Regions from separate parts of the Homo sapiens genome. Here region 2 is linked to region 1. The links are contacts of gene promoters, found by promoter capture Hi-C in blood cells and fetal thymus (Javierre and others, 2016). All regions are on one chromosome and are shown on one strand. Each heading gives the region's core, a stretch centred on a gene start or on the middle of the fragment in contact. The rest is flanking DNA. Distances are from core to core; before and after follow the strand shown.

The links. Contacts are between HindIII fragments. The CHiCAGO score rates a contact against its expected background, and 5 or more counts as called.
Region 2: a contact is called between a fragment that was not itself captured here and the fragment with the promoter of TMEM154 in region 1, in 2 of 17 cell types (monocytes and total B cells). The highest score is 6.5, in monocytes.

Annotation. Positions count from the first base shown.
Region 1 is chr4:152,677,078-152,682,843 of GRCh38, reverse strand. It overlaps TMEM154 (transmembrane protein 154), which reads left to right and starts at 2,847. Exons shown (of 7, transcript NM_152680.3): 1 at 2,847-2,974. The coding sequence starts at 2,911. It overlaps LOC105377495 (a long non-coding RNA gene), which reads right to left and starts at 2,759. Exons shown (of 4, transcript XR_939359.3): 1 at 2,540-2,759; 2 at 2,171-2,257; 3 at 1,704-1,769; 4 at 1,182-1,481. RefSeq lists enhancers at 2,764-3,073, 2,384-3,213. The HindIII fragment of the contact is 2,211 bases long and covers 1,105-3,315 here.
Region 2 is chr4:152,400,286-152,406,051 of GRCh38, reverse strand. The region is part of intron 4 of FBXW7 (F-box and WD repeat domain containing 7); the gene reads left to right. Among named protein-coding and RNA genes, the nearest start is that of FBXW7-AS1, 65 kb to the right of the region's middle. The HindIII fragment of the contact is 3,406 bases long and covers 803-4,208 here.

The DNA of each region.
Region 1 (5,766 bases), core at 1,598-4,097:
ACCCGGCCCTGAGCCTTCCTTTTATCGACTGTAAAGTTATCTCATTCCTTGGCCTGCCTTTGGGTCTGTGCCAAAATGCAGCGATGGTGGCTGACTCTCTTGCTATGGCAAGCTCTGAATTAATATCCATTGCTTGGTTTCATTTGCTTGTGCTCATTTAGTCTTCATTTATTTCCACCATGTGCATGAATGTGTGTGTGAGAGACAGCTGTGTGTGTATCTGAGTGCATGTGCACATCTGTGTGTATTGGGAATGGCAGGATCGGAGTGTGAAGAGGAACGCGGAGAAGGCTGTCTGCACCCACTGGAAGATCCTATCATTTATCTGGATTTGTTCCCTTGGAGTCCCTCTTCTTTTATGGCCCATGGAGTGGTGGTGGGGAGGGGGCGGGGGGAAGGGAGGGAGGATAGGATGAGAGTCACTTCTGTAGCACAGACAGTTGATTGTAAAAGTCACACTCCTTTGTGTAAAGTAATAAAGAGTCCCTAGACATGGTTCCCAGTGTCCCTTCCTGCCCTTCTGAACATGATGAAGCACCATACTTCTTTCCTGCTTTCAGACAGCCAATGGCAGGCTCCAAAGTGGCATTACCCCTGCCTGTGTGCCACTCACTCTGAGGTTCCCCTGTGCCCCACATCTGGGACTGAGGCCCTGACTTCCTGCCACCAGTGCATCGGGATTTAATCTGAGGCTGGGTGGCTATTTGCCTAAATTAATGGTTGCTAAAATTAAAACAGAGGTAAATAGCCCTTTACCTACCACACAGCCTCCCTGGGATTTTAACTGCAGCAAAGAGATCATTGAGGTGCTACCATTTTCTGATCAATCATGGTAATTTTCTTCCCCCTAAGATCAGCTTAATCATGCTAAGGGTCTTAGAGAGCACAGGGGTCAAAAGAAAATTACATGGTTGGGCAGGATTTCTCTGCAGCTCCAGTTTATTTTGTACCTCACTCTGATTTAGTGTTGCACTGCTCAGAAGCAATGCATAGTGCACTTGTTGAAACAGTAATGAACTGTTTGGCCATGTCATGGGGCTCAGCAGAGGTCCACAGAATAAGACAGTCTGTGGTCCAATCCACAGACACCTGACTGCAAAAGCTTCCACAGGGAGCTGAAGTTTAAGATGAAAGAAACGAAGGCTGACAACCTTGCCCTTGACAAACATTTGCCTCCAGCCTGGGATTCAACAATGTTTTAATAACATTTAATAATATTTTAATAGGGCATAAATGGTAAAATGGAGAGAACTCCCAAGCCCTGGGCCTGCTTTCTTGCACGTGTGTGTCACAGCTGCAGAAACACGTGCTTGTACAGGAATAATTGCCACCCCAACTCAGTACCAGCAGGTCTTGGAGCCCGTGATCTATTCACATGCTCAGCAAGTGTTTAATTAATAGTTCTTTCTCTGTTGTTTTCAAATCAATCACCCAGTTTTGAGCACGTCTATTTTCTCCTGCTGTTTGTTCTGTATTGTCACCTGTGGTGCAAAAAGCATATTTTATCAAGAATTGACTTAATTGCCAGTTTAAAACATTAAAGTGCATACTGTAAATCCATTAACAAACTGATCCTTACATGAATCACCAACCTATTTCTTGTGAATAATAACTGAGATAAACAGTGACTAATGACATTGAAAAGCAGCAATGCATTAAAGAAAAATTAACAGCTATGTCAGGGGCTAAGGAATTCCAGTCACCTCATACGTTTGCACCAACCAGATCACTGAAGACAAACGACGGGAAGTCATGACTCAGATGGTGATCTGCAGGGAAAGGTTTAGAGATGAGATGTGTCTGATGCCTCAACACTACCCCTCTCTCCATCTGTCTGTCTCTCTTGGCACCACGATTATGAAACTGCATTCTGAATGCTTAGGCCCTAAACCTAAACCAAGGGAAGGACCTCCAATAGAACACCCAACACACACTAATCTCCACTGTATACTAGACACAACCTTTCTGTATTGTTTCGATTGGATAGGATTTCTACCATTATTCTATTTCGTTTCTGTCCTGTTTTGTTTGTTGTCTGAGAACTTGATTGTCAAGTAAGAAGGAAGGAAGGTGAGATGCAGATTCACCCCTACCTCCACCCTCAGAGCATATTCTCCTTTGGAAATGGACCTTGAAAAGATCATTTCTCTCTGGGGAAGCAGAACATAACCTTAAGGTGTGGGTGTGGCATCCACCTCCATCTGGCGTGGGCCTTGGTGGGAGGAGGGCATTCCAGAGTGGAGAAAGGAGAATGGACCTGGCGGAGAGAAGTGGTCTGGCAGTTTTCTGATGATGCAGTTGTCCCTGCTGTCTGGGCCTGCGCTATCCAACACAGCAGCCACTAGCCACTTGGAGTTATTAAAATTTTATAAAAATTCAATAAAATTTAAATTCCATCAGCACTAGCCTCAGTTCAAATGCTCAGTGGCCAATGTGGCTGATACTGTATCAGACGGCGCAGACTTGGAACATTTCCATCAGGGCAGAAAGTTCTACAGGACAGCTTCTTCCTAGGGTCTAGGCAGCCCCGGAGCCTCACCTGGGGGATAAGCAAAATCACAGAGTGAGAATGCGTGTGGTCCAGGACCCCTCCCAGTCCCAGATACCGAACGACATCTGAGCAAGGGACTCTGTTGCCCCGGGGACGGTTTCAAAAGCTGGAGGCCGGGACTCCAAAGGGCTGGAGAGGCGTGATAATAGAACCAGTGCTTCAACAGCAACTTCTCTTTTGCAATCCTTGCTGGTCTGACAGGCTCCTGCAGAATTACATCACTTCCTAAAAAACAGGCACACACCTCTCCTTCAAGTCAGCACCGACCCAAACAAGCAGGAAACAGGAAATGTTCACGTTTCAGAGAGGCTGCAGCCCGGCGCAGCATCCTGAGCGCGCCTCTGCCGAGGCGAGCGGACATGCAGGCTCCCCGCGCAGCCCTAGTCTTCGCCCTGGTGATCGCGCTCGTTCCCGTCGGCCGGGGTAAGCCGCCTCCACTTCCTACTCCTGGGAAGGAGGATCGCAAAAGCTGGTAGGGTGCCCGAGGCTACAGAACTCTGCCGGGGAGGGTGACACCCAGAAAATCTAATCCTTTCTGTGAAAGAAGTGGAGAAAATTAGAACTCCTTTTTTTGGGGGGTGGGATGGAGAGGGGACTTCGCTTTCGCTGCAGCTGTCTAAACTGGCTACAGCTCTCACTTCATTTAACCCTCTTTCAGTCTTTGTCTTCCAGGAAGTGTGCGTCCCTGTAATTTACCAGCTTTAATGGGCATATTAAGAAAACCATAAACTTTTTGGCAGTTTATGTAAAAAAAAACAAAAGCTTCAATTGGCTGAAACAGAGACATGATTAATTTGCTTTTTATGGTGTGGGCTGAGAAGTCTGCTGATTCCAAAATCTCCTGGAAAAACTGGGGTGTGAAAATTTACTACTAGAAAGCATACTAAAGAAACGACATAAACTTAAAAAAAAAAAAAGGAAACGGGAAATTATCCGAAGAGCTACCAAAGAGCTATGTGTTAGAGGGTAGCCCTCTAACACATCAAGTAAGGTCTTTCATCTACTTTTATTGCACCTTGTTACTTTTACAGATTTTTTTTTTGCATTGATTGTTACTAATGAAGATTTGTTTGAAAAAGTAATATGATTGGAACCAATCAAAGGTATTGGAAAAAACAATATTGAATCTCATTATTATGGGCTAAAAGCAACAACTGATTTACACCCTTGCCAGTTGCTACAACAAGCACAAGCACCTTCAGCTGCCTCTCTTGTTGACTTGCCTTTGGGCAAATACACTGGCTGCCCATTGTTTCTGTCAATGAACACCGACTGCTTCTAGTGTAGGGCAGTATTTACCAAGCAAAAGGAAAGTTCTCAAGCTACAGTTCTTTAGATAGAATGAGGGACATCAGCCCCAACCTAACAGATGTGACAACTTCCTGGAGGTCAGCAGCCAGCACCCAGCCACCCCACTCCATCAATTTCTCTTCCCCTGGGTGTTCTCCATGTGGTCCCCCAGGCATCTGAGGTAGAAAACAAAGTGGAAGGCAAATCATTCCAGCTGAAAAGATGTCTGGTTAAATTGAGTTTAGTGTTCAGAGTGGGTTTGGAAGTTGATGTGTTGTTTTATGCCCAGTGTTTTGGAGCTGGAAGGGAACTTGAAGATGATGCAGCTCAAACCATATTGGGCACACAGGTGAAGAAACAGAGGTGGAAGAAGGGAGATGTCTGGGTCTTGCTGCTAGTCAGCTCTTCTGGCTTCTACTCCAGAGTTCTTTGAGCTCCTCCACCCCCCACCACCACTGCCCCCCTCCCCCCACCGCCGCCCCGGAACCAATCACTGTCTCTGCCAAGAGCTCTGGAACCTTTCGTAGTAGGACATCAGGGAAGAAAAGCCTAGCCATCCTCCTTCCACCTCTTCTATTGCACAACACTGCCACAGGTGCCTCAAACACTCCCTTAATACTAATTCATCTTGCCTGAACTTTTTTTTTAGCTTCTAAAAAATGATTGAGTCCTAGTGTCTGCAATTCAGGAGATGCAAAAAGAGAATCTGAAGAGACTTGGTTAAAGTTGCCTTTCTGACACCTGAATCTGATCGTGCACATCTTCCCCCTTAAGGACCCCTCATTTATGCCCCTTCACTTGTTCCTCATTTTTGCCCCTTAGACTCTCACTGCAACCTCCTTCCCAGTGGCACCTCCTTCCAGTTGTCGTCCCCCTCCGTGGCTCTTGCCTATAATGAATACATTCTTTTTCCTACCTAGCAAATTCTTGTATCACCTTAAAAGTATCAAACTAAATGTGATCTCCTCCTTGATGTCTCCTTTCTCTGCCCCTTCCCTGGAGCTCTACTCGTACCTGCTGCTGTGCCCCGATAGACCTAAACTTCTGCTAATCACTTTGAACCATAATTGTGTCCATGCCTCCCAACTGGCTGTGAACAGCTCCAGGGAAAATCCTCTGTAGTTCACCTTTGACTTTCCAAAATCCTGTAAGGGCTCAGCATAAATGAGAAAATAATTGTTGATAAATATGAAAATCATCCCTAGAATGGATATGAGGCTGATTACAAAAAAAACTGATAGCTCCTGAAAACAGGTAGTGTTGGAATGTAAAGAGAAGTCAAAGATGAAAAGTTGCATTTCAGTAGAGTGCAGGGATTACCTAAATAATCCAACATGCTAATTGGGCCCTGCTGGGATTCCCAATGTCTGAAAAATGCCCACTTGCAAAAAGCTGTTGAATAAAAGCTATGACTTTGAGATGATTCATCATGGAAAAGGTGATTTTAAATTAAAGATTTTTAAAATTAATTAATGTACACTACTTTTAGCTAATAGTGCCTAAGGCTTCAGGATATGAGTTACTTTCTAGGTGTCACAGGTATATTTCCTTGAATTCTTCAAAAAATACCTGGGGATGTTTGTTAGATGAATCCAACCTACTGAAGGGCCTGACACTGTTTGTGAGTATACTCTGAGATGTATCTCAAATTAAGCCTTTATTAACAACGAGCAGGCAACATGAGATAATATCTGCAGTTGCATGAGACCAGCACTGTTACCTCTGAGTCAGCGACCTCTTCTCTTTTTAGAGATAGATAGCCTGACATAGAATTGAGTTCTACCCCAAGAGAAATAATTCACTTGGAAGTCACCAGGAGAGAAATAAGAAAGCAGCTTTTCTGGGACTATAATGGAATGGGTGAGCATAGTTAAAGGAAAGCTTGGGCCTAGGTGCCTTGGCCAGTGTAGGATCCTAAGAAAGTT
Region 2 (5,766 bases), core at 1,256-3,755, 280 kb after region 1:
AGGACATAGGAATAGATCATGATGAATATTGTTTTCACTTTGGTAGTTAACTCCAAAATTATTTCTCAAGCTCCGATCATTCACCTTAGCCATAGTTTTGCATTTCTAGCTGTCTGTTGGGCATCATCATCTGAGTGGTCCACTGAAAACTAAAAGTACTGTTTCTTTCTCCAAACCAAGTTTTTATTTGCCTCCCCAGGTTATCTTTTCCCTCTCAATAGGTCCCATCTTCTGGTCAGTGGATAGAAAAGTGGCTTGACTTTTTCTTATCATCTGAGTCTGGGCCTGCTGAATAATTTAACAGACTTGATCACTTAGTCTCTCTTTTTCTTACCCGCCAGGCAATTGTAAGATAAAAATTGGAGGGTCAGTGTTTAAAAACGTTAAGAGCATTTTTGCTTGGGCTTCTGTTTGCATCAGGCTATAACGCCACGTCCTTGACAATGAGTTGGCAGTATGAATAATTGGATGAGTTTTTTAAAATGAATTTTTAGCTCTGTATAGATAATAACCTCAATACAGATATCTGGTGCCCCATTTCCCACTGATAAAGCCAAACCTAAATGAGAATGTTTGAAGTCTTCCAATATCTTACCATAGTTTTTACCTGGTTTCATCTCCTCTCCTCTCTACTTGTTTTGAATCATACTCCTTCCCACCAGCCATATCCTTCAAATCGAAGTCCAAATCCCCTATCTTAATACCTTCCTAGATTTAGAAAATCGAATTCCTTTCAACCTGTTCTTGCTTCTCTTCATGGTGCAGTTCATTTGGTATTACCTGGTGACATTTTTGGTAAGCTTTGTCTTAAGTTGACATATAATTCTTCACTTTTTTGAGCAGTAGAAATTTGGTAAATTTGTTTTCAGTCCTAATTCAGTTTGAGAATTGAAGACTGGCAAACTGTAATGTGAACAGTTGTCATTTCACCTCTTTTTTTTTTTTTTTTTTTTTTTAAGACAAGGTCTTGCTTTGTTGCCCAGGCTGGATGGAGTGCAGTGGCATAATCATGGCTCACTGCAGCCTCCACCTCCCAGGCTTAAGCAATTCTCCCACCTCAGCCTCCCGAGTAACTGGGACCACTCGTGGCACCACCACGCTTGGCTAATTTTTGAATTATCTGTAAAGACAAGGTCTTACTATGTTGCCCACCCTGGTCTCAAACTCCTGAGCTCTGGTGATCTTCCTGCCTGGGCCTCCCAAAGTGCTGGGATTACAGGTATGAGCCACCATGCCCCAGCCTCATTTCACCTCTTAAGATGTACCTAAGCTAGACTAGAAATTGTAAATGGGCACGTCATTAAAATTGAGTTTAAGACTCAGGTATTCAGTATATGTACAGATCGTTAAATTGAGACTGCCCTGAGGAGAAGTTAAAAATCCCACTTTAGGAATCATTTTGCTAACATGCAGAAATCAGTTGAAGGCAATTCATACAGCCATTAAACATCACATTTGAAAGAATATTTAATAACAGGAAATGCTTAAAAATATTTTATTTAAAATATAGGATTCAAAACTCTATACAGTGTGATCTTAATTATGAAGCAAACATACATTTTTATATATGTGTGTGTGTATGTATCTACATATATACATATGCAAAGAAAAAGATCAGAAGAAGTTGTACCAAATGTTAGGAATTATCTCTGAATGTGGTTGAATAAAAGGTTATTTTTTCTTAAATACATTTTATAATTTCTCCATTTTGTTATAACAAGCATATATGCCTCTTTATTTGAAAAATAACTCTCTGCTGGAAACCAATTATTATTCTATGTGGTCTTTTTTGATGACTTTACATGGTGTATAATGCTCCTAATGGAGGATTGGATAAAAAGATGTTCCTCACAGGAAATGTCATTATATCATGATCTCTGCATGAGAATGCAGCTGAATATAGTGGAAACCTTCCCCTATTCCCAACCCCCCATTTCATAGTGGAAAGAGCACAGAACTCTTTAAGTCCTAGTGTAACTGATTCTTCACATCTCTAGGGCTCAGGTGTTACCCTGGCAATTTTCTAAGATCAACTTAACACGTTATTAGAAGAGTAATAGCATAGTAGTATCCGTTCTTGTTTTGAAGATATTTATTGTTTTCTTTGAAGAGTTCTTTAGCCTTGATAGCACTTTTGGCTCTCTCTAAACATGAATATTTTTCATATAAAAACCGTTCTCCGAGCAATTTCAGAGTCTGTTTTTGAAAATGGGTGTCCCCAACCCCCAGGCCATGGACCAGTCTGTGGCCTGTTAGGAACTGGGCCTCACAGCAGGAGGCGGGCGGTAGGTGAGTGAGCATTACCGCCTGTGCTCCGCCTCCTGTCAGATCAGCTGTGGCATTAGATTCTAATAGGAGCACGAACCCTATTGTGAACTGTGCTTGCGAGAGATCTAGGTTGTATGCTCCTTCCGAGAGTCTAATGCGTGGTGAGCTGAGGTGGAACAGTTTCATCCCAAACCATCCCCCCACTTCCCCTGTCCATGGAAAAATTGTCTTTCATGAAACCTGTCTCTGGTGCCAAAAAGGTTGGTGACTACCGTTTTAAAACACAATTCTTTTTTTTTTTTTTTTGAGATGAAGTCTGGCTCTGTTGCCCAGGCTGGAGTGCAGTGGTGCAATCTCAGCTCACTGCAGCCTCCACCTCCCAGGTTCAAGCGATTATCCTGCCTCAGCCTCCTGAGTAGCTGGGATTACAGGTGTTTGCCACCACGTCCAGCTAATTTTTGTATTTTTAGTAGAGACAGGGTTTCACCATGTTGGCCAGGCTGGCCTCGAACTCCTGACCTCAAGTGATCCACCTGCCTTGGCCTCTCAAAGTGCTGGGATTACAGGCATGAGCCATCGTGCCCAGCCTTAAAACATAATTCTAAAGTGGCCACTGCTTTATGAGGAAATCATCAGTGCTTTCCCTTCCCTCCCTTCCCGTATTCCCAACTCCCCATTTCATCAAACTAATGATATATTTAACATGTTAAGGGTTTTTAGTCCTGATTTTAAGTCTCCTAAGACAGACCCCAAATTGGAGTGGACCTTTGAGATCACCAAGGCCAAACCTGTGCCCAGTGGCTTTACCAACAGACTTGAACTTACAAATGAGGTCATTACAAAGGAATACTGCAATGTGAAGTATCTTCATAGTTTTAGACGTTATTTATGTTAGGGTTCTTTATTTTGTGTTGACATCTCTGACTTTGCTTTGGTCCTTGTTCTTCTACCTAGAGCAGTGACAGCTCTTTTCATAGGAGAAGATTGCTGCCATATTCATCTGTGATCTTCTCCAGACTGAATGCCTTCAATGTGTTCCCAGAATGTGTATATATACTTATATTTTTTCTCATTTATCTTAACAGTCCTAATATGTCATTTCTAATCTTTAACCCCATAATGGAGATGAGAAATATGTGAAGAGAGGTTAAGTAATTAATCTTGTATCAGTCAGCTGGTAAATAGTGGAGTTGGGATTGGAACTCAGATCTTATGCTGGGTCCCGGTTGTACTTTTGTTAACGTTTGGAAATTCAGTTAAACAATATTAGTAATTTTGGGATGAGTGGGCTGTGATGAAATAACCTATAAAGCTACCGCCCTAACATTTATTTTCATGTCCCCAAATGTTGCCTCAACTAAATCTCTGTTACTGTGGTATATTTATTGTGACTCATCGTATTAAGTTTGTTTTTCTCCCTCTCTCTTAAGCCCTTTGATTTCTTATTTTATTGCCTAATAATATTTATTGTGTTATCAGGTACCCTGATAACCTAATTATTAGTCAACAAAGAATTAGTGTATAAATTTTTACATAATACTTGTCAGTCATTGACCACATGGATATGTATTTTGTGTAGCTGGAGTCAGTGTGTATACTTCTTTTATATTCCTGATTCTTTCAGTTATTATGATAATAATAGTCTTATTATTATTTGGTAACCTGTTTGAACAGTTGACTTGTTCAGCCCCTCAAAGGGAATTTCCCCCACTCCCCTCTGCTTCACTGAAACATGACCCATTAACATGAATTATTTCTACATTCCTTCACCTAGTATTTCATATGTATCTTTTTTCTTCTATCCCTCCAATCTGGTAAGAAGAAATACACTTGTCCTTTACAAGGAAACCTTGTCTTTGAATTATTGATCCTTGAGGTCTGCGAAATGTTTTTTGGAGACTTCCTGCATTAGCCATTCTGTCTTTTTAAATTAACAAGCTTTAATTTTTAGATTAGTTTTAGATTCACAGCAAAGTTGAATGAGAGGCCTAGAGAGTTCCCATATGCCCCCTGGTGCACACATGTACAGCTTCACCCTTACCAGAGTAGTACATTTGTTATAGTCAGTGAATCTACCTTTGTCATATCATTATCCAGAATCCATAGTTTCCACCAAGGTCTCACTCTTGGTGTTGTGCACTCTGTGGGTGTGGGCAAATGTGTATTGACACGCATCTACCAATGTAGTACCATAGAGAATGGTTTCACTACCTTAAAAGTCCTGTGTTCTGCCTATTCATCCCTTTCTTCCCCAGCCTCTCATCGCCACTGATCCTTTCACCGTCTCCATAGTTTTGCTTTTTCCAGAATGTCATATAGTTGGAATTATACAGTATGTAGCCTTTCAGATTGGCTTCTTTCACTTACGTAATATGCATTGACTTTTCCTTCATGTATATTTATAGCTTGATAGCTCATTTCCTTCTAGCACTGAATAATATTCCATTGTTTGGATATACCACAGTTTATCCACTTCCCTAGTGAAAGACATCTTGGTTGCTTCCACATAATTGGCAATTATGAATATAGCTGCTTGTGAAAATCTGTGTGCAGGATTTTGCATGGACTAAGTTTTTAACTCCTTTGCGTAAATGCCAAGGAGTGTGATTCCAGGATTGCAAGTTAACAGTATGATTAATTTTGTAAGAAACTGCCAAATGGCTTCCAAAGTGTCTATATACTTTTGCATTCCCACCAACAGTGAATGAGAGTTCCTGTGGCTCCACATCTTCAGTGGCATATAGTGTTGTCAGTGTTCTGGATTTTGACCATTCTGATAGGTGTGTATGGTATCTCTTTGTTACCATTTGAAGTTCCCTAGTGATATATGATGTTGACCATCTTTTCCTGTGCTTACTTCCCATCTGTAAATCTCCTTTGGTGAGGTGTCTGTCCAGATCTTTTGTCCATGTTTTAGTCAGGTTGTTCTGTTACTGTTGTATATTTTGGATAACAATCGTTTATCCCATGTGCATTTTGCAAATACTTTCTTCCAGTCTGTGGCTTATGTTCTTATTTTCCTGACAGTGTCTTTCAGAGAGCTGACATTCCTATTTTAGTAGAGTCCAGCTTATGAATTATTTCTTTCATGTATCATGCTGTTAGTATTGTATTGTTGTATCTAAAATGTCATTTCCGGCTGGGTGCCATGGCTCACACCTATAATCCCAGCACTTTGGCAGGCTGAGGTGGGAGGATCGCTTGAGCCCAGGAGTTTGAGACCAGCCTGGGCAACATACTGAGACCTCCTCCTTAAAAAAAAAAAATGCACAAAATTAGCCAGGCATGGTGGTGCGTTCCTGTGATCTTAGCAACCCGAGAGGCTGAGGTTGGAGGATTGCTTGAGCCTGGGACATCAAGGATGTGGTGAGCCAAGATCATACCACTCTACCCCAGCAAAAAGTCATGTCTATACCCAAGGCCATTTAGGTTTTCTCTTATGTTATCTTCTAAGAGTTTTATAGTTCTGCACTTTACATTTATGTCTATGATCCATTT